Regions from separate parts of the Homo sapiens genome. Here all the other regions are linked to region 4. Evidence: promoter capture Hi-C in 16 types of primary human blood cells and fetal thymus (Javierre and others, 2016). All regions are on one chromosome and are shown on one strand. The core of a region is centred on a gene start or on the middle of the fragment in contact, and the rest is flanking DNA. Distances in the headings are between cores, read along the strand shown.

Region 1 (4,937 bases), core at 894-3,393, 330 kb after region 4:
ACGTTTTCTTCCTCATCCAGGCTGCGTCCAGTGTCCCTCCAGCACCTCCTATTGTCAGAACTTAATAGGAATAGTTGGCAAAGCAGAAATGAGACTTATAAGTCCCAGCATCACAGAGCAAAATCTAAAAGGGTAGGTTTGAAACTGAGAGATAGTAGCCTAACGATGGGCATAGGCACCTTTACTTCTGAACACTATGATTCCATGCACCCAGAAGAATTGGGAAGGGCACAGAAAGTGCCCAAAAGATCAGTGAAAAACAGTGAAGATATGGTGGAATTTGGGAATGTATAGGTTTTAGGTAGTTATCTAAAATTGTCCCTGAAATCGGTAAGTGAAATAAAGCTTGTGAAAGGGTTATTAATTAGGCCACAATGGAAAGTAATCTTTATTTAGTTTATATTAGGTAGCTTTTGTTTTTGTTTTTTTTTTTTGAGATGGAGTCTTGCTCTGTTGCTCAGGCTGGAGTGCAATGGCGTGATCCCGGCTCACTACAACCTCCGCCTCCCGGGTTCAAGTGATTTTCCTGCCTCAGCCTCCAGAGTAGCTGTGATTACAGGCATGTGCCACCATGCTTGGCTAATTTTTGTATTTTTAGTAGAGACGGGGTTTCATCATGTTGGCCAGGCTGGTCTCGAACTCCTGACCTCAGGTGATCCACCCACCTCAGCCTCCCAAAGTGCTGGGATTACAGGTGTGAGCCACAGCACCCGCCCTAGATAGCTTTTAAAAAATTTTTGGCACAGTGTCAGACATTTACTGGAAGCTAAATAAATAAGTGATGGCTGATAATCTTCAAAGTTCTCTGGTGATAACTATATCGACATCAGCCTGGACCATTTTGTTTGAGAAACAAATTGAGAAAATATCAGGCTTCTCCTTTAGTTTCACTTTTACTGTTGGTGCTTTACCTAGCTTGCATTTCTCTGGCTTCTGCAGTCAGCGTAAATAGTTCCTTTGTTTTCCAAAGTTCCTCCTGCCCCTCTAAATGCTCTATATCTAAAAACTCATTTAAGAAGCAAGTTGGAAAGTACGCGTGTATGGAATGTGCTTTCAAAATAAACACTAAAAAATAAATAAATAAATTTTAAAAACACCACTAAAAAAAAGGAAAAAGCAGTTTTTTGAAATTCTAATGATTAGAAAGAATAGATGGTAAAAACAGTAGTTAGCTACCTAGCAGTGAAATAGTTGAGAAAAAGAGATAAGGGAAGTGATGATGATGATGATGATGCTGATGATGATGACGATGATATTGGATTAAAAGAGCAATACAGACTGGAACAATCAGGAAAAAAGAACAAGGATCAATAGCAGAAATAAAGGACATGACTTAGCTCTTATAGAGCTTTACAGGTATTGTATTGTATTAATCTTAAAATGCTAATTTTTTTCCACAAATAGGATGCATTTTACCAACAATGCATACCAAAGTTTAATTGGCAGTATCCTTTCTTCGTGGTATAGAAAATAACAGGTATTTTACAGTTGATGGCATCTTAGATTAATATACACTAATCTGCAATTTACAGGAGCTACATTTCATGTACATAAGCAGGTATAGATCTGAAAAGCTAGCTGTAAAAAATAGCCAATGATTATAGAATATTCACAATGTACTAGATCTGGTTTGCAGAATTAAGGAGGGGATTCTCCATGAATAGCGCCCCCCCAGCCAACACTTCAATATCTATACAACTTTGTTGATCTCCATCCATGCTGTGATTCAAAATCGAATTCACAGGGCTATGTGTAGGAGGCACACAAGTTTATCATACAAATGAGACAATTTTTGTGCGTGTGTGAAAGGGGGAGCTATTATTGTTTTGGGAAAACAGATGTAACCCATAACTATTCAGGGCAAACCAGAGGTATGCTTACACTAGCTATATGCCCTTCATTTCAGAAGTTCAATGTTAAGCACCTCACTAAACAGACCGTGAAATGCTGAATAAATCAAAATCTTTATCATAACATCACTGAAAGGGAGGTAAGGAATATGAAGAACCCAAAAGAACCTGACACAAAGGCCCTAGGAGGTGAGGAAGGCCCAAAACTTAGGCTGGCTTCTGAAATCTCCTGCCCAGGAGATCTTAAACTCTCACTTTGTTGATAATGTAGGAGGTCAAGGCAAGAGATAAAGCCAAGGTCTGCCACAGTGCAGACTAAAACCCTCTGATGAACCTGTGTCATGAAAGGGTTATACCTGCAATGTACAGGTAAAGAGGCCTAGGTCCTGCCATGCAGAATGCAGGAGTCAACAAGAACAACAACAAAACCCCATGCCTATCTCCAACCTGTCACTTTCCCTGGAGAATTTGTAAATCACAAGCTGGCTCTTGTACAGGATTGTGGTCTGAAGTTGCACTGTGGTTTGAAACCCCTTAGTGAAGAATTTCATTCAAAGAGGTTCTGGGTAATGCCCCAGGCAGCAGGCTAAAGCATTCCCAATTCCCTTAGGAAGAATTCACGGTCAACTTAGGCCTCAAAGAATGTCCACAGATAAAGTTTTAAGGAGAACGAGCTTATAATAAAAATTCACAAGACATACAAGGAAATAAAATACCATGAGTAAAAACCAACAGAAACAACAGATAAACAAAGAATCCAGACATTGGAATTATCAGACACAATATTTAAAAAACAAGTGGAAATGCAAATGCCCCAGAAACATGAAAATATATTCATCCCCAATAGATACTAGGGAAATGCAAATGAAATTCTCATTGATACATCAATTCATATTCATCAGATTGACAGCAATGTTTTCAGTTGGCATTACCAGTTTGGCATCAGCTAGTTTGTGCATGTAAACATGTTCATACCCTCCATTCCTAGGTTATACCCTAGAGAAACTCTTACATATGTGCCAGGAGATGTAGACCAGAATGTCCATAGTAGTACTGCTTATAATTTTTAAAAACCTGAGAATAATGCTAATGATCCCCAATATTAAAACTGATACATTGTGCTGTATTCATACAATGCCAGACTACAGAGCAGTGAAAAAAAATAATGCACCTATTTGCATCACCATGGATGAATCTCAGATATAATATTGAACAAAAGAATCAAGTCATAGAAGATGTATGCAGTATGAGTCAGTCCATTTACATAAGTAAAAAAGGGTATATGTTGTTTAAAGATACATACAAAGGTGATAAAACAGAAATGAAAGGCAAAGGAATAATTATCGTGAAATTCAGGACAGTGGTTGTCCCTGGGAGGGGTGGGTAGCAAGGAAGTACGATCGAGGTAGACAATCGAGGGGTTTCTCAAGTACCTGGTGACATTTATTTTCTTAACCTGGGTAGTAGGTTCATGGGTGTTCACTTATCCTTTTTTAAAACGTACATTTTATACACACTTTTGTATGTATTCTGTATTTTATAAAAAATAAAATTAAATAAGAAATTATTCTTATAGTCCTTTTCTAACCCATGGGGCCTTCTGCTAGAATTTTGTGCTGTTCACATTCTCAATGCCAGCTTCCTTAGCCATAAAGTAAAAGGGTCCAGGGATTTGTAGCAGTTCTTCAGGGCTGCCGCACTCTATAATCTTCCCGTTGTCTAGGACCATTACCCTGAAACAAGGAAGAAAGAAATAAAAGTCTTAGAAAGCAGCATCTCAAGTCTAGGCATTTATAAGAATAACCAGGACTAAGTTGTGGTATAGTCAGACAAGGCTACAAAGCAGTGAAAATCAATGAGCCACAGCTACACACATCAACATGGATGAATTCTGCAAATAATATTGAACAAAAGAATCAAGTAATAGAAGAATACAGGCAGTATGAGTCCATTTACATGAGTTTTTAAAAGAAGTGCACATTGTTTAAGGATAGATTGGTTTACAAAGGGTGCCTATCATCTCCAAACAGCTTTCTAAGATTACTGACTTTTGATTGTAATATGACACAGCTGGAAGGAATAGAAAGCTTCTGGCTGTTTTACAGAGCAGCAGCTGAGGCTCAGGACAGTTAGGAAGGTCTATGGTCAACATCTGCCTCTCACGGCTTGAGCTTCCACCTCCCCATACCCAGTTAATTGTTACAACACACAGTTTCCTATTTTGCCCTCAAGATATGAATAGTTCCCTTAACCTTGTTCGTTTTCATTTGCGTGATGTAAAATTTTGGCCAGATTACTTGACATCTCTAAGTCTCAGTTTCTTCATCAGTAATGTGGTGGTGGTTAAACCTTCTGCCATCAGGTGTTTCCCGGCTGACACTGTTACTGTTGAGCAAGGGTTAAGCCATCCGTGTCAAGCCCTGTCCCCCTACACTCACTTGTCACTGTCCATGATGGTGTGCAGCCTGTGGGCGATGGTGATCACTGTGCAGTGGGCGAACTCGTTTTGGATGGTCGTCTGAATGAGGTTGTCTGTCTCTAGATCCACCGCAGCAGTGGCCTCATCCAGGACCAGGATCTTGGATTTCCGAAGCAGAGCCCTGCCCAGGCACAGCAGCTGCCTCTGGCCTATGCTGCAGCCAATAGAAGCAACCATGTGTTAGCTCCTAAAGACCAAGGAAAGACGCAGGGCAGGGGGACCATTTTCATGTTCCAGATCAGACTTTCAAAACCCCCCCTCCAAAATTCCCCTGGAATGTTTGGGCCTCTTCAACTAGCTGTACCTTGCTGCTGTGAGCATCGTTTTTCAAACTTTCCCAATTGAAGACCCACCCCAAGTACTTAATTAAAAAGTCATATTTCTGGGCCCTTGCTTTGCTCAATCAGAGCGGGCAGGAGCCTAGGAAGGTGCCTTTTTACTAAGCACCCCAGGCCATTTTTATGCTTAAACAAGTTTGGATAACAATGGCCCAGGAACCATGCTTTGTATTTGGTTGCCGTGACATCAACATTTCCAAAACAACATGAGTGTCACCAAGTTTACGTTAGCAGCATTTGACCTGAAGCCATTAATATAGGGTGGAGCAA
Region 2 (4,907 bases), core at 2,201-4,700, 310 kb after region 4:
TAGAATTTGAAATGGACCCTGGGGCTTTGCAAATGACTTAGTGACTATGAGAAGAGAGACAAGTCTTAGAGCTGGCTTTTGGAAAGGAGAAACTTGCAGTCAGAAGCCCAGTGTCCTATGTATGCAGGAAGCTGTGCTCTAGCAATAGACAGTGTTGGTAATGGTTGTGCTGTACGGCGTTTGGGGTGGCCCCATGTTCCATGCTCAGCTGACCGGATGCCAACTCAGATGAAAAGAATTCATGGCTCTGGGCACCCCGTGAGGCAGTGCTTGCACATGGCTGGGAGTTTGTCGGGATTGAACCAAACCTAGTGCTTCAAAGCTCCTGGGACACCTCCAGTGTCCAGCACACATTCTCATACATACTGCCCCTAATTTCTAAAGTCCCTAAAGCACTACATTCTGTAACCTTGTTTCTTTTACTCCATTCCCAGATTAGTTATGCAAAATTCAACTGCGTTCTACTTTTAGAAGTGTTTAGGGTCTTTATTTTCTGTTGACCCTTCATCTGAAAGATTCTCTTCCCTTGTTAGGTACAATCACTGCCCCCCCGCTTTTTTTTTTGAGATGGGGTCTTGCTATGTTGCCCAGGCTGGTCTTAAACGCCTGGGCTCAAGCAACCCTCCCGCCTCCCTGCTGAGATTACAGGTGTAAGCCACCATACCGCAACCTCAATGACACCTTTCTGATGGTCTTTACACAGTCTGTGATGTCTGGTGGCCCCCCTGCCCTGGACTCAATAATTGATAGATTTTCCTAGAGTAACAGTATGAGAGCTCCAGCCATTCCATTAAAAGTATTAGTTCTGCTTTGAGCTGAAACCAGTTGAGCCTAATGGAAGACTGGATGTCTTTCTTCTTCATCCAAGCACCCTAATGACTGTTTAGTTACATCCATAGATGCAGACAACATAACACCTGTGACTTACTTGAATTGGGATAAGCCATTCCAGAAGTAGCTTATCCTAGACTTGGAAATAAGATTTTTTTCACCACTAACTTCCATGCTTCAGAGATGACATTCAAAGCCAGATTCCCAAGTGCCTGATCATACCTCCCAGTCTCAGGAAGATATTTGCTTACCCCTTAGACCAAGAATCTTAAGATCTTCCCCAGCTATGAAGCCTATCTTGGAATGGGAAACCATGAAATTTGTCTTTTAAAAGAAAGGGAAGAAATAGCCTTACAGCCCCTGTTCCTCCAAGTGCACATTTAGCCTTAAAATCCTGGGAGTCGGGAGACACCGTGGAGTCCTAACATCCACAGTGTCTGCTGGTCGTGGTCAGAAGGCAGTAATGCAAGAGTCCTTTTGTGAAGAGTGTTTCTATGTAGAGATGTTTATATTTAAGTAGTTCTTTTATAAATAAAAGCATTTCTAATGGCCTTGGATGTTTTCTTGATTTCCATGTTTAAGCTGAACGGGTTTTTTTGTTTGTTTGTTTAAGCTGAACGTTTTTCCTGGGCTTCTGGGGAGGCCTTCTTGACAATGAGTGATGTCCAGATCTGGGAGAATGGGAGAGGCTAACTGAAGAAATGCAGGCCCAAAGTCATTCTGTCAAAGATTCCAACAATCTCTATATACTCAGGCCGAGTGTGGTGGCTCACACCTGTAATCCCACCAGCACTTTGGGAGGCCAAGGTGGGCGGATCACTTGAGGCCAAGAGTTTGAGACCAGCCTGGCCAACATGGTGAAACCCCATCCCTACTGAAAATACAAAAATTAGCCGGGCATGGTGCTGCATGCCAATAGTCCTGGCTAATCAAGTGGCTGAGAATTGCTTGAACCTGGGTGGCAGAGGTTGCAGTGAGCCAAGATCACACCACTGTACCCTAGCCCGGGCGATAGCAAGACCCTGTCTCAAAAAAAAAAAAAAAAAAAATCTCTGTATACTCAAAATATGTCCATGCTGCAGGTGACTGCCTCTATTTTCATCTTGTCCTGTGAAATTCTAACGAAACAGAAGAGCTGGGATCTCTAGGGGATAAGTATTTCCCTGATATTGCAGATGTGGACACTGATACACAAGGTTATCTAACAAGGTCACGGAGCAGCAGCTCAGGCAGTTGGGGGCAGGGAAGGAAGTGGCAGGGCTAGTGGCAGAGGTGGGATTGAGGACAGTATGGTGGGTGACAGTAAAGCGATCACCCAGTGTTGTTAAGGAATAGAAATCACTGAATTGGGTAGGCTGCAGGAAAGCAGCTGATAAGTCACCTATGCTACTCTCATGTGATAGACTAGGAAAATGGGGTCCAGAGACATTCGTACTCACCCAAGTCATATATCAAGTTTTTGAGGGGTTGTGAATTGAAACTCGGGCCTGCAGGCTCAGGCTGAGTCTGTACACCTTGTTCTGGAGCCAGACTGTCTGGCTTCTGACACTTGGCAGCTTTGTGACCTTGGCAACGTACCCACCTCTGTCTCAGTTCCCTGGTTGAGGTAGAGATAGTAATAGCATCCACCTTGTAGAGTTGATAGGAAGATTCCGTGAGTTAATACATGCACCATGCTGCAACAGGACAGCTGCGAGATACTGGAGGAGGACTTTCAGTGCTTGTCCCCCCATGGAAACATCTTAAACTATCTGTGCATGAAAATACCCTAAGCGCTAAGAAAACCATGTGAGAGATGACAGCACCTGGGTGTTGCATGCAAATATTAAGAAAAGATGCATTGGAGAGGGCAGGGAGGACATGTTCACAGGACCTGTGCCAACCCCTCCCTCAGCCGCAGGCAGCGCAGCACACATCGGAACACCCTCTGCATGGGGGGAAGAGAGGGAAGCGAGTCCCAGATTCAACCTTGGACCTCAGCACTACCCCAGTAAAACCCAGTGCCCAGCAGGTCCTCACAGCCCCAGACTCCAGGCTGGTAGCTGCACACTTGCCCCCAGGCCTGCCTGTAGCATAGAAGCTTCACGAGAATGCCTGAGACCACTGTGGACACTCATGTGACTAACATTTGCTCAAGGCAACACACCTGCCCATTCTTGATAGAGGAGTAGTAAGGGCCTAGGATTACAAGCCCTTACTATTCTAGATAACCTATCTATGTATCTAGGATATATGGATCCCAGGTTTCTAGCTTAGGAGACAGCAGAGAAGTGATGGGTGCCAATGGACCATCCAGCCGGAAAGGGGAAAAAATACATGCAAAGCATTTCAGCAGGCTTGGTGCTTACTACTGAGTTCACTGTGGGTCAAATCATTGACCCCTTATGTTCCCCTCTTGATTCAAGCCACGAGGAAGAAGAACCCGGAAATACAGTCCTGGATGGAGTTTGTGTCTTGTAGGAGCTGGTTGTTACCAGCTTGTACCCACTGCTCCCACAGCACCCTCTCCACCCAAAGCACCCACCGTCAAATTACCCTTCCAGCTCTGCAGATCCAGCAGGAGGTTAGCGTGAAGGAATCACATCAGATATAGGTAAGAAAAAGATTCAGCCACTGTCCTCTTGCCTTACTGTCCTATCTCAACATCTCTATGCATCCAGAACACTTTCTTAAAGCACAAAACCTACTTCAAAGCCATGAAGAGTAGTACAGACCTTTACGGAAGATTTCTTGTGGGTATGAAAGACGACAACCCCACCTATGACATCTAAGGCAGAACTTTCTGGAAATATTGCTTTTCAACATCGACACAAGACTTCTACTTCTTCCGGCATCAGTCCAACTCTCCCTCAATATTCCTCTCCGCCCATTTTTCTACTGCCGAGCTTTCCCCTCTTCCTCCCTGTCCCCTACTCCCCTTTTTAAGTCAAATGACTGAGTTCTTGCACTGGCATCTACCCCAAGTGCCAGCATCATCACACCAGAACAAAGGCCTCATGGCCACACAGTGCAAACAAACAGAAGACTCTCAGAATATGAGGGAATGGCCAGACGTTTCTACTTAGTTATTTTGTATTATATATGATGCTAATATGAGTGCCTTGGTTCCAAGGAACATCCCATGGCACACAATGTCCTCAAGAGAGTCTGTAAGCTTTCTGGGAAGCTCAGGGTTCTGTCCAAAATAGCATCTTCCACTCACTGAGCCACGCACTGTGCCAAGGCTTACCCTGCATTATCCTATGTCACCCCCTACCCCCGCCCAACAAAAGAACACTACAAGGTGTGTAGAAGTAACAAAACTGATGCTCAGAGCCCAGCAGGTTGAGGCTGCAGGAAGCCGTGATCACACCACTGCACTCCAGCCTGGACAGCAGAGTGAGACCGTCTCAAAAACAGAATGACTCATGCTCAGAGGATAAGAAACTCAACCAGGTTTACCCAGATAGAAATAGTAAGACTCAGATTTCAATCCCAGCCCTGAGAGCAAAGCTCATGTATTTAACCCTTTGCTATATACCCACTTGAGAACACACCAGCTCATGTGTACAACCAAAAGGACTTTGGCCCTAAGCCATTGAATGGCCCTTCCTAGTCAGTTCTGTGGGAGCCTTCATCAAAAGAGGACACTGGCCCTTTAAAGGAAGGATTGAATAGCAGTAAGAGTCTAAGCCAGTCTCCATTGCTTTAGGTCAATGTGGAAACAACACATAACCTTCAACTCTCCTCCAGGGCCTGGTCTACATAGAGCTGTCTGGAGTCCTGCCCTGGCTGCCTCTGTTCCTGAACCTTTGGATTTCTTGGAATTCTAATCCTCTAAATCCAGTCTTTTGACTGAACCATTTGGAAATTGAGGCCTGCATGGCAGTAGGGAGTACCCTCACCCCCAGAGGTAACAACTCTTTAGGAAATTTCCAAAATACACCTAGTACCAGTAAATAACCTGCCTGGTTCCCTAATCTTTCCTTCACCATGTAGAGGCTTCTGGATAATTTTGGTCCTCAGTTCACTATTGGGAGTCTTCTATAGCATCTGCTCCAAGTTAAGAAGATTCGCACACTGATCCTAAAATTCAT
Region 3 (4,431 bases), core at 1,678-4,177, 390 kb after region 4:
AGTTTTCTAAAATGTTAGACCACCAAGGTTCTAGAGGAATCAACCCACTGCTATGCCTTCCCTTTGGTATGGAAGAGGGGAAAAAAAAAAAAACAACAACTAACAACATCTAATTGCCCTTCAAGGTAATCACTATATATTTCTATTTTCAATAAATACAGTCCCAGTAGCCCTTGTCTGGGGACAACTCCTGGCTATGTGTTTGCAGGCATTGAAATTATCTAAGCCTGATTTTTCTCTGTAAAATAGGTATAATGTACTTATTTCACAGGGCAATAGCCCTGTGAATTGATAATGAATGTAAAAAATGTTTCATAAGTAGTGAAGCATTGTCTAAACATATAAATTAGTAATTTTCTTCCACTCTTCTAATAGCGATATTTATTTGAATAAAAGTGTCATTGAGGGTTCTATTTTATAAATCTCTTTATTAATTGTAATAGTTGCAAAACCTGGAATATTAAGAACCAAAATAGTGCGAATGAATAATCACAATTATGAAAAAATTGTAGAAGTGTACTTTACTAGCAATGGCTGAGACAGGCTGGTTAGTGACCTCATAACTTGTAAACCAGCAGAAACTCAGTATCTCCAGAAGAAATAAGGAGATTTTAAAAATCAACTGGAGGAAGGCAAATTCCAGTTGGGGGGTATCTGGGAGTTCAAAGGACTTGACTAGACTTCTGATTTAAAGACACTTGGATTATCTGCCACTGTCTCTCAACGAACCAACATCTACTCAGGGAAGACAAAGACACAGTGGTGTTTCTAGAGAGGAAAGCAAAGGAGAAAAGTAGGAACTGTAATAGAGAAGTTACTATGATGGAACTTTCCAGTGATGGAAGAAAAAAAGGAAGAAAGTCAACTAGTGTTCCAACTTATAAAAAGATTGGAACCTATCTCCTCCTGGATGAATTTTCTCCTCAAGCCTGTAGTCACTGATCATAACTACTGTATTTTCATTTCTTAAGGAACAAAATGGGACTTCATCTTGGTATGGAGGACATGAGGAACATACAGTTTCCTTGAGAAAGTTAACCATTAAAAACAATGTATCGGCCAGGCGCGTTGGCTCATGCCTATAATCCCAGCACTTTGGGAGGCTGAGGTGGGCAGATCATGACGTCAGGAGATCGAGACCATCCTGGCTAACATGGTGAAACCCCATCTCTACTAAAAATACAAAAAATTAGCCGGGCGTGGTGGCACGTGCCTGTAGTCCCAGCTGCTTGGGAGGCTGAGGCAGGAGAACCGCTTGAACCCAGGAGATGGAGGTTGCAGTGAGCCAAGATTGCACCACTGCACTCCAGCCTCGGTGATAGAGCGAGACTCCATCTCAAAAACAACCAAAACAAAACAAAACAACAACAACAACAAACAATGTATCAGAGGGAAGATGAGCAAAATCATCTTAAGGAAATGAAAAAGCTTCCAGGTCTGCAGAACTCAGTAATCAGCATGAATGTATTTACAAACTGAAAAAAGAAGTCAGACAGAGGAGGTTTAGGTTAGCACTAAAGGTTAGAAAAAGAAGTTGCTAGGTGAAATTTGGTCTGGGGAGGTGGAGCTCCGGCAAGACTGCAATTTGAGATGGATACACCAGGTCTCTGAGCTGGATTTCATTAAGTATTTGAGTTAAATGTTGGTGGTTTTAAGAGTTTGACCCTTCACCAGCTTCTTTTCTGACCTTATATTCTTTTCCAAGGCATTTCACCTTGTCAAGAGAGGCAGGAAGAGATGGATGGGTAGCCAAGCCTTCAGGGCTGCAAGGTGGATCCTGAGCACCAGAACAGCTTGCAGGCTTCTCCCTGGGGAGTACGTTTTCCCTCCTGGCCTCTCCACCCATTGTCTGTGAACACACTTCTCAAAATCTAATTTCCAAAGAAACATCTAAAGGAGGCTGTATGGCCAGTCAACATTAAGTGTTGAGATAAGTTACCATTTCCATCACATTTTCCTCAACCTTGGAATCAATGCTCATATTTACTGAGGGGATTTTCTTTGGTGATACCTGCCGTATTCTGCTTACCTTCTTATATACAGAAGCCATGATAGCTGTCCGTACTTTTACACCCAGCTTGAAGCACAGTTGGAAATAACACTGAAGGCAGAAAGACTGAATGAGAGCCGCAGTGAATAAGAGGATTGCACAGAGATATCCAATCCACAAATATGTGTCACGGTCACTTGCAAAGGAGATCAGCAATCTGCCAGAGAAAAGCCAAGTTAGTTATACCCATAAGGCCTCCAAGGATGCCTCTCTCCTCATGCACAGCCAGCTAGACTACACTATCTTTACACTGTAGGTAACAAAAGTGACCAGAATTGTCCAAAGCCTTTGAAAGACCTAAGTCTACAGTTTTACCAGTGTCCTTTCTGTTTTGTTTTGTTTTTGATACAGGGTCTCACTCTGTTGCCCAGGCTGGAGTGCAGTGGCAGGATCATAGTTCATTAAGCCTCGAACTCCTGGGCTTAGGTGATCCTCCCACCTCAGCCTCCTAAATAGCTGGGTCTACAGGCATACGCCATCGCATCTAGCTAACTATTTTCTTTTGTAGAGATGGGGTCTCGTTATGTTGACCAGCCTGGTTTCTAACTCCTGGCCTGAAACAATCTTCCTGCCTCAATCTCCCAAACTGCTGAGATTACAGTCATGAGCCACCATGTCCAGCCTGGCGTTCTGGCTTTTACTTGGAGATGAGCAGCAAGAGCTTAGGGTTGATAACCCATGGCTGTGAGAATGGATAATGACAGAAATGCTCCACCTAGCTGTCACTGCAATGCTTTGGCCCTGTCTTTCCCTGCAGGTGGTTCACTCCACAGGTCATGACAGATTGTGAAGTCTTGTCAAGATTAACCTGAACCTCCCGTGGAAGGCTGCGATGGAGAGATGAAGTCAGTTACTCTCCAGGGGTATGCTACCCGCCACTTGGATCTGGCTCAGCCCTTAGCAGTTTAACAAGAAACAGCCCCTAACAATTACCCGGCCCCCTATGAGGAGACAGACATGGAAAAGAGAGAGGCTAAAGTACATATCATCATACATCTTGAAAACTGCCTGCGGTCTTCATGAACACAATGCTGTAAGGTTAAGGTGGAAGAAAATTACGAGCATTTTTAAAAAATGGGAATTTAAGAAAAGCTCCTGCTTGCATACACAGTGGCAAAAAGGAGGGTGGCAGAGGAGGCCCTGAAAGGACCATCTGAGGCCTGGAGACTCACTTCAGCAGCTGAGGACTCACAAACGTGAAGATGTCATTCACTAGCTTCAGTAGGAATGATTTCAGGAGCACCATGTAGAAAGTTTTGAACAGAGCCTTCATCAACCAGGATTTTGGAACATCTTTTTTGGTCCCAGACTTCTTTTTTTTCTTTTCAACATCTTCCTAGGTACAAAACCAAACAACAGTGTCCACAGAGTTATGTCTGTTACTGGCCTGAGCAGCTCCAGGGTGGTCAGCCTGTGAGCCCCGTGGCCTTCTCTGTACAGGTTTTGATCATCTCTCCCTGGCCTAGTTGCTTCTGCCCTTCTAGCTGCCTTCACTGTTCCACTCTCCCGCTCCTAACTGATACTTGTAATCTATTTTAGATTAGAAAACCAGGCAACTAAGCTGGTAAGAGTCCCATGTAAAAAGAGAGACCCATCTGCGTGGGGGCCTGAGGGGCAGTCCTGAGAGTGAAGGGCCTGGGCATGATGCTGAGAGGTCCTTTCTGTTCTTTTCATGCTTGTTCTTTTCATGGTTGCTGTGAGATGTTATGGGTTGAATTGTATCCCCACCCCCAAAAGCTATGTTGAAGCCCTAACCCCCAATACCTTAAAATGTGCCTTATTTCGAAAGAAGGTCTTTGCAGATGTAACCAAATTAAGATGAGGTCACTGGGGCCCTAATGCAGTATGATTGATATCTTTACAAGAAGAGAAGAGACAGACACAGAGAGAAGATGGTCCTGTGATGGTGGAGGCAGAGGTCAGAGTGATGCATCCAGAAGTTAAGGAATGCCAAGCATTGCTGGGGAACACTAGAAGGTGGAAGAGAGGATTTTCCCCTCCAGGTTTCAGCGGGAGCGAGTCTGATATCTTGACTTCAGCCTTCTGGCCTCCTGAGCTGGGGACAGTACATTTCTGTTTTAAGCTATCCAGTTGTGGTACTCTATCATGGCAGCCCTAGGAAACTAATACATGGGGCATTACGACTCAGTCACCAGCCTCTGTCTATGCTTTGGCCTCCTCATTATGTCCTCCTGAGTCTCATCTTGCCCCAAATTCCAGCTTCTCAGCCTACCAGTGATACTCTCTCACAATGTCTTTCACTGAGGTCCCATCTGATGGGTCTCCCTTGCCAGGACAACTGCCCTGGCCTCCCTTCTAGCTTCCATTCTTGCCCACAACGATCCATCCTCTGGGGAGCCGCCCAAGTAAGCTTTTCACAG
Region 4 (4,563 bases), core at 508-3,007:
ATTTGTTATAGCGTGGGGGCCGCTGCTGGTGTGTGGCTGGGGTTATGTCAGGGCAGCCTGATCTATATAATTTGGGCAGATGGTGTGAGTCAGAACAGACTATTATAGTGGGATCCCCAAACTTGCTTTTGATGCATGAGTTGGACCACTATTTTTTGGTGGGTAACAACTTTTCAGAGGGGAATGGCAGTTGTGAATTGTATACATTTCATTCTTTAAGCAATATTATGAAAAACTTCAGAGAATGTCTACAGAAAACAGGGTATGGAGCAAGTTATTTTCCATTCTTTTTGCTTTTTGGAAGTTAAAATAGCTAAGCTCTGCAAATATCATTTATTTGGAACAGATAAGGTCCCAGACATTCCTAGATAATAAAAATCAAATGAATGATACAGGTAAGTGTATTTATTGAAGGGTGTGGGTAGAGTGGTCTGGGAAGTCTTGCTTTAATGAAGACGGATTGATTCTATTTACCTCTTCTTACTTCCACTACTAAGTAACCCTGGGCCTGCAGTTTCCTAACCACTTGACTTCCTTGCCAACAGTCTGTCTCCACTTTCAGCCGTTTTATAGATTCATTGGCCCTAAAGCACTGCTTTCCCATACTTCCCTACCCAAGAGGGCAGGGGTCCCCAAGCCCTGGGCCGCGGACCGGAACCAGACAGTGGCCTGTTAGGAACCAAGCCGGATAGCAGGAGGTGAGCGGCGGGCGAGTGAGCATTATCGCCTTGAGCTCTGCCTGCTGTCAGATTAGCGAGTGGCATCAGATTCTCATAGGCACGCGAACCCTATTGTGAACTGCACATGTGAGGTTTGCCGGCTCCCTGTGAGAATCTAATGCCTGATGATCTGAAGTGGAACAGTTTCATCCCCAACCCACACACACCCCCACCCCGTCCGCTGGGTTAGAGGACTTTACAACCCTAGTCCACCTTGTCCAGTTATAGTTCCACCTCTAGCCTTTCAAGGCTTAAACCATTAATGTCCTTAATTTCTCTTGTATTCATCTATCTCCCAACTATACCTTTTTCCTTCCCTTTTTTATTTTTGGCAATATGTGCCCATGGTTTTTTAATTTAAAACGAACAGAATATGTAGTGACGCCTACCATAGCACTCCTTCCCATCACACAAGCCTTCAAGGAAACTGAAGTACTTACTTTGGTCTCCCTGGAGGATTCCCTCCGCCTCCCGCCCCATGTGCTTAGCAATTCTGTTCCTGTAGTCTGGATGGCCTTCATAAAGCCCTCACTGGACCAGCATTCTGGCACATAATAGGAACACTTAAAAAACGAGAGAATGATGCCGTTATATCTAATATCTTCCTCTTCTGAACTTTCACAGCACTTTATTTGCAACAAGTTTAGTTGCTCCTGAAGGGCAGGATCTCTGCCGGAAGCAAGTGCGTGCCACACAGTGGGGCTCCGCATACACTGCAAAAGGACAAATAAACCGAACAGCTACCGTTTGAGAGTGAGCGAGTGGGTTCTCTGCACAAGAACAAACCAACCAGTCCCTTGTCCGAAAGGGCGTCTCCTTTTCTCTGCTTCGCTGCTCACTCCAGACTGCGGGCTGTCCTCTTCCGAAGCAGTTAACCAGCAGTGTACAGAAAGCGACTTGCCTCCAAAGGAGCCTGCGCGGCCCGCGGCTAGGAGAATTTTGTCCCATGCGCTCCCCGTCTCACTAGCCGCGGGCCGGGGCTACGCCGTGTGCGTCCCCGCGCAGCCGCAGTGCTGGGCGAGTGGGCGGGGCCGGCTGTTGGCGGCGGTTGGCTCGGCGCGGGAGTCGGCTGCACGTGCGGGCGGGGGCGATGCGTCACTGATCGGTGAGGCGCGGCCGAGGGGTCGGCTTTCCTCGCGAGCCTGCGGCTGGGCTTCTTCTCAGTTAGTGCCTTCCACCCGGGAGCGACCCTTGGGAGAGGGAGTTTCAGGAAGCTCACCGAGCAGGGGCGGCCCACTGGCCTCCGGGGGCGGAGGAGTTGGCAAGGGGTCAGCGGGCTCAGCCAGAAGGGAAGAATGAGGGGACAGGGGTACTGGACTCCCCGGCTCAGCCTGCGAGAGAGCGCCAAGTTTCCGGAGGGAGAGGGTAGAAACTGGAGGGGGTGGACCTGTCACTCACGGGACTGAGGGTCCTTTTCTCCCGCTCCCAGGAGGAACGAGAATGAATATGACTCAAGCCCGGGTTCTGGTGGCTGCAGTGGTGGGGTTGGTGGCTGTCCTGCTCTACGCCTCCATCCACAAGATTGAGGAGGGCCATCTGGCTGTGTACTACAGGTGAGCGGCATGTGCAGTCAGTTAGGGCTCTAGAGCAGATTAAAAGGGTACTCCAGAGTGGAGTCTGGGAAGTTGTTCCCTCTGCAACGTTCGGGGGCGCATGTCCCATCTCTAGGGAGAGCACGGGGGTCGAAGCGGGCTTTTGCGGAGCACCCTCCAGATGTTGGACAGTTTTAGTGCTATGTTCGTTTTGTTGCAGAGATTAAGTCTCCCTACGGTTATTCCTATACACAGCAAACTCAATTATTTGTAGAAAAATGAAGAAGGAAGAAAGGAAGTAGTCACTCTACCTCTAACTGAAGAGATGGATAAATTATAGTTCGTTCAACTGTACAGGCTTTAGTTTGCCGCTGTAGATGCTGTATGTTTATGGTTGTTTCTTAGACTTTTTCATTTAAAAGCTTCCAGTGTCTGGTTACGTCTTGTAACACCATGATGACTGTGATGGTGCTTATGTCCCTGGACCTCCAGGGACATAAGCACAACACTGATGGGCCATGCTCCTCCCTCCTTACTGTTGCTGTTCAAGTTGGGGACAGGAGTGGTGTGGGAGCTGTTGCTCTCTTGTTGAGCTCGCTTAGCTTTTCCTTCAGCCTAATTACCACAAGTTCCTTTTGATACAGACTAGTAAGAGAGGCCAGTTTGTGGAGAAATTGGGATAATGGTGTATTCAAAAAGAGCGTCAACTTTTTGCTTGTTTCCACTATCCCTCAAAACTGATATTTCTACTTTCAAATCCATCCTGAATCCTAGAAAAAGAGCAATTTTAATGGTATATCTTAGCAGATGGAGCTCTACATAAGAAATTACAGATTAGTCCAGATTTCCTTCCAGTTTAAAAGCATTGTCTTTCTGACAGTAAAACCAGAGAAAGGACATTTCAAGGAATGACTCAAAGAATTAGTAATGAACCTCAAACAGTTCATCTTTCCTTGTTATTATGACCTTGCAAATGTGTTTATATTTTCAAGACCGGTAGCTAAGTTCTATGAATTTACAAGGTGCAAAATAGGACTTTGTTTTCTTTGCTCCCCAAATGCCTCCTTTTTATAATTTCCAGGGCTTGCTTTCATAGTTTTCACATTCCAGGATTTGGTTAACAAGCCCTTATGCTATTTATTTGTATAGTCTTGTCACCCTTCATCTTTTCATGCTAATTTTTTGTTTTTATATAGAAATTTTATGTTCCCAGTATTTTAATTACCTTGTAGATAGATCGAAAGAATTATAAGCCTCAGAAATTTTCTCTTTACTTCAAAGTTTGCATTGTCTTTTTTTCAACCTGGTGATTAAATGTATTATATATTTTGATTTGGCTCTTGTTATGTACTATTAATGTACCTCTACTGAAAGCCATTAGAATTTTTTAAACAAATATTTCTCAGAAGGTTAAAGACCGAGGAGAATCCTTTGAACCTTAGAGCAGTGCTGGAGACCCAGAGGTACGGTTGGTTGAGCTTATGAAACAAGGTGTAACATTGGCAGTTTAATTTGATCTTTTTCCCTTTTTAGGTGTGGAGGTATTTTAAGCAGTTGTTCATTATGAGCAATTCATATTAGTGAGGCTTTAGTAGGTCAGCAGCATGAGCAAGAGTGAGTATTTATTATAGCATTTTAGATTTGGAAAGATAATTTTTCTTTTTATAATTTTGTCAAATTGAAACATCTTTTTGCAGGGGAGGAGCTTTACTAACTAGCCCCAGTGGACCAGGCTATCATATCATGTTGCCTTTCATTACTACGTTCAGATCTGTGCAGGTGAGTGATTCCTAGGGGAAGCCTCCATACCAGATAGACAGGCATGACAGGAGTTACCACACTTGTGGGTGGAGATAGATTTCCTTATTGCTTAAGCAGATGGTGGTATTTACTTAAATGCAGAAGTTAACGTTCAGAGTACAGTTGTTACAACACAAGTTATGATGTTAAACCACCTCACTTACTTGAAATGAATTAAAGGTATGAACCAGGAAGCTTGGAAGGACTGACTTCTACCATCTATATCGTGGTATATAGCAAATTTTCTGTTGCTGCTGTCACAATAAAAGTAAGAATTAGAAACACAACTAGACATACAAACCAGTGATTATGTGGTTTAGAACAGTGTTTAGTTTCCATAGAGGCAGGCTCCTGGGCTACTGTTAACATGGAGGATCAAAATTTTTATACACAGCCTTTCTGCCTCATGTTTTTTTGCCTGGTATATTAAGCACAATTTTATGTGGAACCTTAGTGAATGTTATATTTTGATGGCATCCCGGGATATTTGAAATAAGTGTCTAATCCTCGAA
Region 5 (4,491 bases), core at 35-2,534, 420 kb after region 4:
TTAGTTCTTAAATTTAGGTTATGACCCTTTGAGTTAATTTTTGCATTTGGTGTAAGGTAAGGGTCCAACTTTATTCTTTTGCATGTGGATATCCAGTTGTCTAAGCATCATTTGTTAAAAAGACCATTCTTTCCCCCACTGAATTGTCTTGGAATCCTAGTCAAAAATCAATGGACTATAATGTAAGTGCTTATTTCTGGACTTTCAATTGTATCCTATTGAGCTATATAATTATCTTTATGCCAGTACTACATGGCCTTGATTACCATAGCTTTGTAGTAAGTTTTGAAATCAGGAAGTATGTCATCAAATGTTGTTCTTCTTTTTCAAGATTTTCTGGCTATCCTGGGGCATTTGCGTTTCCAGATGGATTTTAGGATCAATTTGTCAACTTTTACACAAAAAGGCAGTTGGAATTCTGCTAGCAATTACATTGACTCCGTAGATCAATTGAAGAGTGTTGGAATCTTAAAAGTAGTAAGTTTACCAATCTATGAACATGGGATGTCTTTCCATTTATTTCTTCATTGTTAAGTCTTTTAAAATTTCTTTCAACAATGTTTTGTAGTTTTCAGTATACTGTCTTACACTTTTTTTTTTTTTTTTTGAGACTGAGCCTTGCTCTGTTGCCTGGGCTGGAGTGCAGTGGTGCGATCTTGGCTCACTGCAACCTCTGCCTCCCAGGTTCAAGTGATTCTCTTTTCTTAGCCTCCCAAGTAGCTGGGATTACAGGTGCCCACCACCACACCTGGCTAATTTTTGTATTTTTAATACAGACAGAGTTTCACCATGTTGGCCAGACTGGTCTGGAACTCCTGACCTCACATCATCCACCCGTCGCGGCCTCCCAGAGTGCTGGGGTTACAGGTGTGAGCCACTGCATCTGGCCTGTCTTACGCTTCTTTGATTACATTTATTCCTAAGCATTTTATCTTTTTGATGCTATTATAAACTGAACTTTTATTAACTGCATTTTAGGATTGTTTGTTGCTAGTGTAAAGCAATACAATTTATTTCATATACTGATCTTTCCGAGAGTAGGAAAACTCAAAGTGTTTTTTCTATTCTCACAACAATCAACACAGAGGACTTTTATGACCAAATGTGGGGAGTGAGGGTCTCCCTGACACACACCAAGCAAGCAATCACTTCTGCAGCAGACACCAGCTCGGTGTACTCTAATTCAATCTCAACATTATCTACCTGAAGATAGCATCAGATCCCACAGGTTGAGGGCTCAGTCCCCAAGACTGTCCCCCAACTTCCCACTCCTCACCAGCCAACTTCCAACATCAATTGCAAGCCCCAGATTATTTTGCCTGTGCTTGTCACCGACCAACTATAAATCTGAATTCCCACAACCCCCTCCTCAGGTTTGATTGATTTGTTGGAGTAGCTAACGGAACTCAGGGAAACATGTTTAATACAATAAACATGTTTATTATAGTTTTTTTTTTTTTTTTTTTTTTGATACAGAGTCACTCCATCACCCAGGCTGGAGTGCAATGGCGCGATCTCAGCTTTCTGCAACCTCCACCTCCCAGGTTCAAACTATTCTCCTATCTCAGCCTCCTGAGTGGCTGTGATTATAGGTGCGTGCCACCACACTTGGCTAATTTTTTTTACTTTTTAAATTTTTACTAGAGACGGGGTTTTGCCATGTTAGCCAGGCTGGTCTTGAACTCCTGATCTCAAGTGATCCACCCGCCTTGGCCTCCCAAAGTGCTGGGATTGCAGGCATGAGCCACCATGCCCAGCCTACAGGGGCTTTTTTTTTTCTTTTCAACTTGTACTCTTCAGGGGATACATGTGCAGATTTGTTACAAAGATATATTGCAAGACGCTGAGGTTTGGAGTATCACTAAACCCATCACCCAGGTAGTTGGCATAGTACCCAATAGGTAGTTTTTCAGCCCTTCCCTCTTTCCTTCTCTCCCCACTCTAGTAGTCCTCAGTGTCTATTGCTCCCGTCTTTGTCCATATGTAGCCAATGTTTCGCTCCCACTTATAAGTGAGAACATGGGGTATTTGGTTTTCTGTCTGCATCAGTTTGCCACAAAAAAATGCCACAAAACACATTTATCAGTAAGGAAAAAATGCCACAAAACACATTAGTAAGGAAGAGAATCGAGCATCAAGATTTAAGGCAGAAAGGGAAAAGCTAACTCTACTGTTTTGTGCAAATGCAGTCAGGTTTATTATTAGGACAGCCCTTGTCTATATAGCAGCTAACCCCTGAGCCTTCAAAGGAAAAGATAAACACCAGCTGCCAGTCTTTTGACTGTACAAGAGGGCCTGGACAATCAGAACCCTTTTTCTGGATTGGTCCAATCAATGATGTTGTGGTTAGGATATACTGGCACCAGGCTTCTTGTACAGGCTGCAGAACTGTGAGCCAAATAAAATTTCTTTTCAAGTTACAAAGCCTCAGGCATTTATAGCAACACAAATGAACTAAGGAAGACAACTGGTACCAAGGAGAGGGTGGTTGCTATAAAGATACTTGAAAATGTGGAAGTGGCTTTGGAACTGGGTAATGGGCAAAAGTTGGAAGAGTTTAGAAGGCTCAGAAGAAAACAGGAAGATAAGGGAAAGTTTGGGATTTATTAGACTGTGTGAGCGGTTGTGGCCAAAGTGCTGACAGAAATACAGACAGTAAAGGCCACGCCTTTCTAAGCAGCAAAGCGTTCAATAAGTGGTGAGGCCAGGCATGGTGGCTCATGCCTGTAATCCCAGCACTTTGGGAGGCTGAGGCAGGAGGATCATTTGAGCCCAGGAGTTTGAGACCAGCCTAGGCAACACAGTGAGTCCTCCAACTTTACATTTTTTTTTCTTTAATTAGCTGGGTGTGGTGGTATGTGCCTGTAGTTCCAGCTACTGGGAGGCTGAGGTGGGAGGATCATTTCATCCCAGGAGATCAAGGCTGCAGTGAGTCATAATCCTGCCACTGCTCCAGCCTGGGTGACAGAGCAAGACCCTGTCTCCAAAAAAAACAAAGTGTGGCTGCTTCTAACAACCTACAATCAAATATGTGAACAAAGGAATGACCTAAAGTCAGAACTTAAAAGCAGAGAATAAAAATTTAGCGAATTTGAAGCCTGGCCGTGTGGTAGAGAAGGAAAGGGCATTTTCAGGAGAGGAATCCAAGAATATTGGATTAGCCGAGTCCAATCACTTGCTAGAGAGATTAGCAATGATAAAAGGGAGCCAGGTGTCAGAACAATGAGAAAAAGGCTATGAAGCCATTTCAGAAATCTTCAAGGCTACCCCTCTTATCAAAGGCCTAGAGGCCTAGGAGGATGGAATAGTTTGAGGGACAATCCCAGGTGCTGCTGCTGTGTGGCTCCTGCCTCAGGATGCTGCTCCCTGCATCCCAGCTCTTCTGGCTCCAGCCTCTCTGGAGGATGTAGGCTATAAGCCTTGGTAACTTCCGTGTTAAGTCTGCAGGCACACAGAATGCAAGTCATGGCTTGCCAGCTTCCACTTAGATTTCAGAGGAGTATTAGAAAGCCTGAGTGCCCAGGTAAAAGCCTGCCACAGGGGCAGTCCCCACAGAGACTCTACTAAGGCAATGCAAAGCAGAAATGTGGGGTTGGAACCCCTGCAGAGTCCCCACTGGGGAACTTCCTAATGGAGTTGTGGGAACATGGCCACTGCCCTCCAGACCTTGGATGGTAGAACCATCAACAGCACGCACCCTCAGCCTGGAAAAGTCACAGGCATTCAACTCTAACCCATGAGAGCAGCTCACTTGAGCCATGCCCAGAAAAGCTGCGGGGACAGAACTGCATAAGGCTTTGGAGCCCACTCCTTACACCAGTGTGTTCAGGTTGTAGGATGTGAAGTTAAAGTAGATTTTAGAGCTTTAAGGTTTAATGTCTGTCCTGCTGGGGTTCAGATTTGCACGGGGCCTATTGCCCCCTTTCTTTGATTTCTCCTTTTTGGAACAGGAATGTTTACTCAGTGCCTGTACCACCACTGTATCTTGGAAGCAAATAATATGTTTCATTTCATAGGCTCACAGCTGTAAGGAACTTACCTTGAGTCTCAGATGAGGCTTTGGACTTTTGAATTGATGCTAGAACAAGTTAAGACTTTGGGGATGGGAAGATTATATTTTGTAATGTGAGAAGGACATGGGATTGGGGGGTCAGGGGCAGAATACTATGCTTTGGATACGGTTTGTTTGGCCCCCACCAAGTCTCATGTTGAAATCTGATCCCTAATGTTAGAGGTGGGAGCCTAATGGGAGATGCTTGGGTCAAGGCAGCATGTTCTTCATGCATGTCTTGGTGCTGTCCTATTGTCCTATTAGTTCTCACCCTATTAGTTTCCCCAGACTGATTGCTAAAAAGAGCCTGGCACCTCCTCCCCCTTCTCTTGTTTTTGTTCATGCCATGTAATCTGTACATTCTGGCTCCCCTTTGCTTTCTGCCATGAATGGAAGCTTCCTGAGGCCCTCATCAGAAGCAGATGCTGGTGCCATGCTTC
Region 6 (4,357 bases), core at 665-3,164, 350 kb after region 4:
AACAGATGCTTGAAGGCAGCATGCTCGTTAAGAGTCATCACCAATCCCTAATCTCAAGTAATCAGGGACACAAACACTGCGGAAGGCCGCGGGGTCCTCTGCCTAGGAAAACCAGAGACCTTTGTTCACTTGTTTATCTGCTGACCTTCCCTCCACTATTGTCCCATGACCCTGCCAAATCCCCCTCTGTGAGAAACACCCAAGAATTATCAATAAAAAAATAAATTTAAAAAAAAAAAAAAAAAGAAAAAAAAGAATGGACTTTCCCAGGCCAGCTGTGGTGGCTCACGACTGTAATCCCAGCACTGTGGCAGGCCAAGGTGGGCAGATCACCTGAGATCAGGAGTTCAAGACCAGCCTGACCAACACGGAGAAACCCCGTCTCTACTAAAAATAAAAAAAATTAGCTGGGCGTGGTGGTGCATGCCTGTAATCCCAGCTACTTGGGAGGCTGAGGCAGGAGAATTGCTTGAACCCAGGAGGCAGAGGTTGTTGTGAGCTGAGATTGCACCATTGCACTCCAGCCTGGGCAACAAGAGGGAAACTCCATCAAAAAAAAAAAAAAAAAGGACTTTCTCAAAGAAAATGTATTTAAATGTCTGCACCAATAATTCCAGCATGTGTATGAATAAATATGATATGTCCTTTACAGTGAAGGTCTAATAAGATTTACTTATATGCCTTTTCCTTCTTAGAAAGTCTCTAAGAAATAAAATATCTTTACAATCAAACTCCTGACCTGTCCACATTCCAAATAATGCTGAGCATCTTTAGCGCCTCAAGACACTTTGGAAGCCACTCAAGAATTTTTCTTCCTGAAAAAGATCTTCCTCTTTCCAGGACATACTGCTTGCCAGGGCTTAAGGATACTGGAGAATAATGCTCACCCTGTTCACAAGACGGAAGCTTCCCTTTCTGTCATCAATGGTCTTACCTAAAAATTCCCAACTCTCCTCTCTCCAACCTCCACTGCCTTCACTACCCAGAAAGAGTGTCATGACTATGGAGAATCTCACATCCGTTCTCAGAAAAGTAAACAGAGGATGTTCAGTTCACCCAGCACTTATTTGGTACTGGGTTACAAAATGCTCACAAATGTCATTTGACTTCCACCATGAGACAGGTGGAACCCTGTGAGATAGGGTGTGTTCTGGCCATTACAAAAACAAAGAAATGGAGATTCTCCTTAGAGAAGTCAAGGCAATTCACCCAGCTTGGTAAACGGCAGAGCTGTCATGGGGACCCAGTCTCTGACTCCAAAGCTCATGCTTTCTTCTCTCCACTTACATAGCATGACAGTGTGTGTGGCCAGAGTGAATTTCACACCACTAGCCATGCCTGCCCTCCCACCGCTAATATCAAACATATAGAACCCCAAAGTACACACATGGGTAAATACCCAGGGGAAGCCTCACCTGTTGGAGGTGATCCAGGAAAAGACACATTTCTGGTTGGTGTCAATCCTCACCTCATTGTGTTTCAGAAATCGCTGCTGGTGCTCAAAGGCACGGATAACTGGCAAACCTGATACGGTCTCGCTGAAGTGAGAGTAGATTGGGGACCTGGTGACAGAGTCCAGACGCCTCAGCTGGCGGGAGGTAGACACATAAAACATCTGGACACAAAAAGTAAAGAATCAGCCAGTCCCGCAGTCATGAGGCATCCACCATCTTCCTCCTTTCTGGCCACAACCCAGCATTCTTCCCCTTGATGGGCACAGCTTACGTCTGAACAAGACAAAAGCCTGCAGTGCCATGTCTGGGAGCAGAATGATGAGAGGCTCCGAGGAGGAGACCAATGAGAAGACTGGGGTTGGTGGGGAACAGAGTGGGGTGAACGTGAGGAGAGCACACTGCAGCCTCAGAGCTTTGAGTCTCCAAACCTCCTAAGGAGTTCCGTCAGCCTAACCCATATCCCCCAGATCTACGGCTATCATCCATGTGACAGTTTCTGTACTCATTAGAGAAAAGGTCCCCAAAAGGATTTTGTAAAGGCAGTGGGGCCCGTGGGGTGTGTAAAGTGGGGATGGGCAGGAAATGGCCAGAAAAAGGCATGCCTAGGTTTGGGTAAAAAGGGAAGAATCTGTTCAATTAAGTGACCAAAACTGTGCCTCGGTGGTGTGTGAAGGTACAGAGAATTCTGGAGGTATGCAGAGTGCTGAGGGGGTAAGAACTGGAACAGGGTAGAATCCAATGCAGGGAAGAACCCTGTGGCCTGAGGGCAAGGGGGAGTGGAATGGGTCCGTGCTGCTACTAGATTCTGTGAGGATTTGTTGAAACCTGGGAAGAGTGGGGCGTTGGAGAGACGGGATGCAAAATGTTATACATGGACATACAGATGTTCCCTCCAATAACCCTGCTTCTTGTTTGTTGGCTTGTTATTAATAGTTAAAAGGCCGCTATGGTGACAATGTGCCTGAGGAACTGTACACGGACATGGGGGCGAGCCGCCAATCGCAGGCCACAAGGCCACGAGCCCCTGATCAGTGTCTTCAGAATTGTTTCCCCAGGCAAACAATTCACCACAAAAGCAGCTGGTGGGACCAGAGTTCCTCCACAGCCTCCCCTTCCCTCATCCATTTTATTGTGGGAATAGGGTTCCTTCCACTCGTTCCAGTTTCCCTGTTTTGCTTTCAAGCTGCACATTCCCTCGAAGAATACACTGGAATTGAGCCTAAACCACCCACAGACACCCCAGTGAAACTAGAACTTTGCCGAAGTAAAAAGAAAGACCCAGCTGCTGCTGAGAGACATCTCCAAGCAGCTATGCCTGTCCAAAGTCAACCAAGGAAGCACCATAGCATGGCTCTTCTGGAACCGACCTAATCGTCATGGGGGTTCTTATGGAGCTGCAAGACTGTGTCCAGAGCCAATCTCAAAGTAGTCTTGGATCCAAACGTAAATCTGTCCGACCTAAGCTTCCAGGGAGTGAAGGGTGGGCAGCAGTTAGGGTGACATTTGCCATAAATGGTGCACCCATTGATGCTCTCACTTCAGCTTCAGACAGTGGCCTGTGGGCTCCTGGGTATGTCAACATATGACTAAATGGCAAAGCTGCTGAGGGGAGGAGTGAGTGACTAGCAATGAATCAGAGAGAAGATTCTCAGGAAAGAGGCTGGGCTTTTATAGATAGAGAGGAAGGAAGGATGACTTAGCCATTTCCAAACCTACCTGAACAGATACATAAATAATGCCAAGAGGAATGACGATGATGGTGAAGACAGGAGTGGCCATGCAGATCATGACAAGGGTGCTGATTATCCCCAGGAAGCATGTAATCCAGCTGCGCAAGGACTGAGGCAGGGTGTCATCCACTGTGGAAATATCCTAGGAAAACGATTAGGAGAGATACACCATCACTGAGGTCTTCCTAAGATAGTTTACATCTTCCTAGTTCTAGCAAGGAATCTGTTGGATTCTGTGTGTTCCCAGTACTCCTTCATGTAATCATTTCATTGTGTTCATTTGCAATAGGCTGCATTGCTTGCCCCAATAACCAATTTCATTTCCATAATTTCTTCATTTAGGCCTGGCGTGGTGGTCACACCTGTAATCCCAGCACTTTGCAAGGCCGAGGCGGGTGGATCACCTGAGATCGGGAGTTCAAGACCAGCCTGACCAACATGGTGAAATCCCATCTCTACTAAAAATACTCAGGAAGTTGCTTCCTCTGCTAAGCATAGAGGACCAAGGGGAAGGGAGCTGGGGTTGAATGTGAGCCTGCCTGGACAGTGTTCTAACCAAGGAACCCAGCGGGAACAGATGTGTCTTACTGCCATGTTGCCTTCGTGTCATGTGAAATAAATGAACAAATAAGAAAAATGAATGAATGGATGGATGGTTTGGAGAACACTCAAGAAGCTTGGTTTATATTTTGGGTTGCCCTTGCCTAAATTTGTGGGGATTATATTGATTCTATGATTGGTAATATGTGAGTACCAAAGTGAGTTTAAGTTATCTCTGGAATTTCTCAAACTGTATCAGGGATAATGGTCTTCCAGGAAAGCTCTGAATCATGGATGACTCCTGAGTCTAACCTACCTTTCCCAAAGTCCTATCAGAATGCAAATAACTATACCCACAGTTGGCAGAGAAAAGAAATCCCTACCAGTTATCAGTTCTATGCAGATTACTTTTGATCCTTACCTGGCACAGAGTCTCCATCTTTCCTTCCTCCACTCCATCTCCTCTTAACTCAGCCATTGATCCCAGAGGCCCCTTGATCAAACTCCCCTTAATAGGTCTGAGCCACCTCCCCAACGAAACATACTATATAATTAATGACAGTTTCCTTTCTCATGCAAAAGCAGTCTTCAAACTATGACTGTTGCCTAAGTAACTCACAGAAAACCTCTGTG

Evidence for each region. Contacts are between HindIII fragments. The CHiCAGO score rates a contact against its expected background, and 5 or more counts as called.
Region 1: a fragment that was not itself captured here is called in contact with the fragment with the promoter of ERLIN1 in region 4 in 2 of 17 cell types (fetal thymus and endothelial precursors); the score reaches 6.6 in fetal thymus.
Region 2: a fragment that was not itself captured here is called in contact with the fragment with the promoter of ERLIN1 in region 4 in 1 of 17 cell types (endothelial precursors); the score reaches 5.3 in endothelial precursors.
Region 3: a fragment that was not itself captured here is called in contact with the fragment with the promoter of ERLIN1 in region 4 in 1 of 17 cell types (endothelial precursors); the score reaches 5.1 in endothelial precursors.
Region 5: a fragment that was not itself captured here is called in contact with the fragment with the promoter of ERLIN1 in region 4 in 1 of 17 cell types (M2 macrophages); the score reaches 5.5 in M2 macrophages.
Region 6: a fragment that was not itself captured here is called in contact with the fragment with the promoter of ERLIN1 in region 4 in 3 of 17 cell types (endothelial precursors, fetal thymus and megakaryocytes); the score reaches 9.9 in endothelial precursors.

Annotation. Positions count from the first base shown.
Region 1 is chr10:99,850,148-99,855,084 of GRCh38, reverse strand. It overlaps ABCC2 (ATP binding cassette subfamily C member 2), which reads right to left. Exons shown (of 32, transcript NM_000392.5): 31 at 4,289-4,483; 32 at 2,491-3,583. The coding sequence ends at 3,454. Among named protein-coding and RNA genes, the nearest start is that of ABCC2, 70 kb to the right of the region's middle. RefSeq lists a silencer at 4,699-4,937 and an enhancer at 4,539-4,937. The HindIII fragment of the contact is 3,592 bases long and covers 348-3,939 here.
Region 2 is chr10:99,872,052-99,876,958 of GRCh38, reverse strand. It overlaps DNMBP (dynamin binding protein), which reads left to right. Exons shown (of 17, transcript NM_015221.4): 17 at 1-1,382. Among named protein-coding and RNA genes, the nearest start is that of DNMBP-AS1, 53 kb to the left of the region's middle. The HindIII fragment of the contact is 1,074 bases long and covers 2,914-3,987 here.
Region 3 is chr10:99,798,162-99,802,592 of GRCh38, reverse strand. It overlaps ABCC2 (ATP binding cassette subfamily C member 2), which reads right to left. Exons shown (of 32, transcript NM_000392.5): 8 at 3,223-3,386; 9 at 2,030-2,207. Among named protein-coding and RNA genes, the nearest start is that of ABCC2, 18 kb to the right of the region's middle. The HindIII fragment of the contact is 2,993 bases long and covers 1,431-4,423 here.
Region 4 is chr10:100,183,223-100,187,785 of GRCh38, reverse strand. It overlaps ERLIN1 (ER lipid raft associated 1), which reads left to right and starts at 1,757. Exons shown (of 11, transcript NM_006459.4): 1 at 1,757-2,272; 2 at 3,949-4,030. The coding sequence starts at 2,160. It also overlaps a transcript of CHUK not described here. RefSeq lists an enhancer at 1,390-1,539 and a silencer at 1,710-1,859. The HindIII fragment of the contact is 3,606 bases long and covers 1-2,675 here.
Region 5 is chr10:99,759,432-99,763,922 of GRCh38, reverse strand. No RefSeq gene overlaps it. Among named protein-coding and RNA genes, the nearest start is that of ABCC2, 21 kb to the left of the region's middle. RefSeq lists a silencer at 2,524-2,724. The HindIII fragment of the contact is 6,331 bases long and covers 1-4,449 here.
Region 6 is chr10:99,833,349-99,837,705 of GRCh38, reverse strand. It overlaps ABCC2 (ATP binding cassette subfamily C member 2), which reads right to left. Exons shown (of 32, transcript NM_000392.5): 24 at 3,171-3,326; 25 at 1,416-1,615. Among named protein-coding and RNA genes, the nearest start is that of ABCC2, 53 kb to the right of the region's middle. RefSeq lists an enhancer at 2,540-3,739. The HindIII fragment of the contact is 2,011 bases long and covers 909-2,919 here.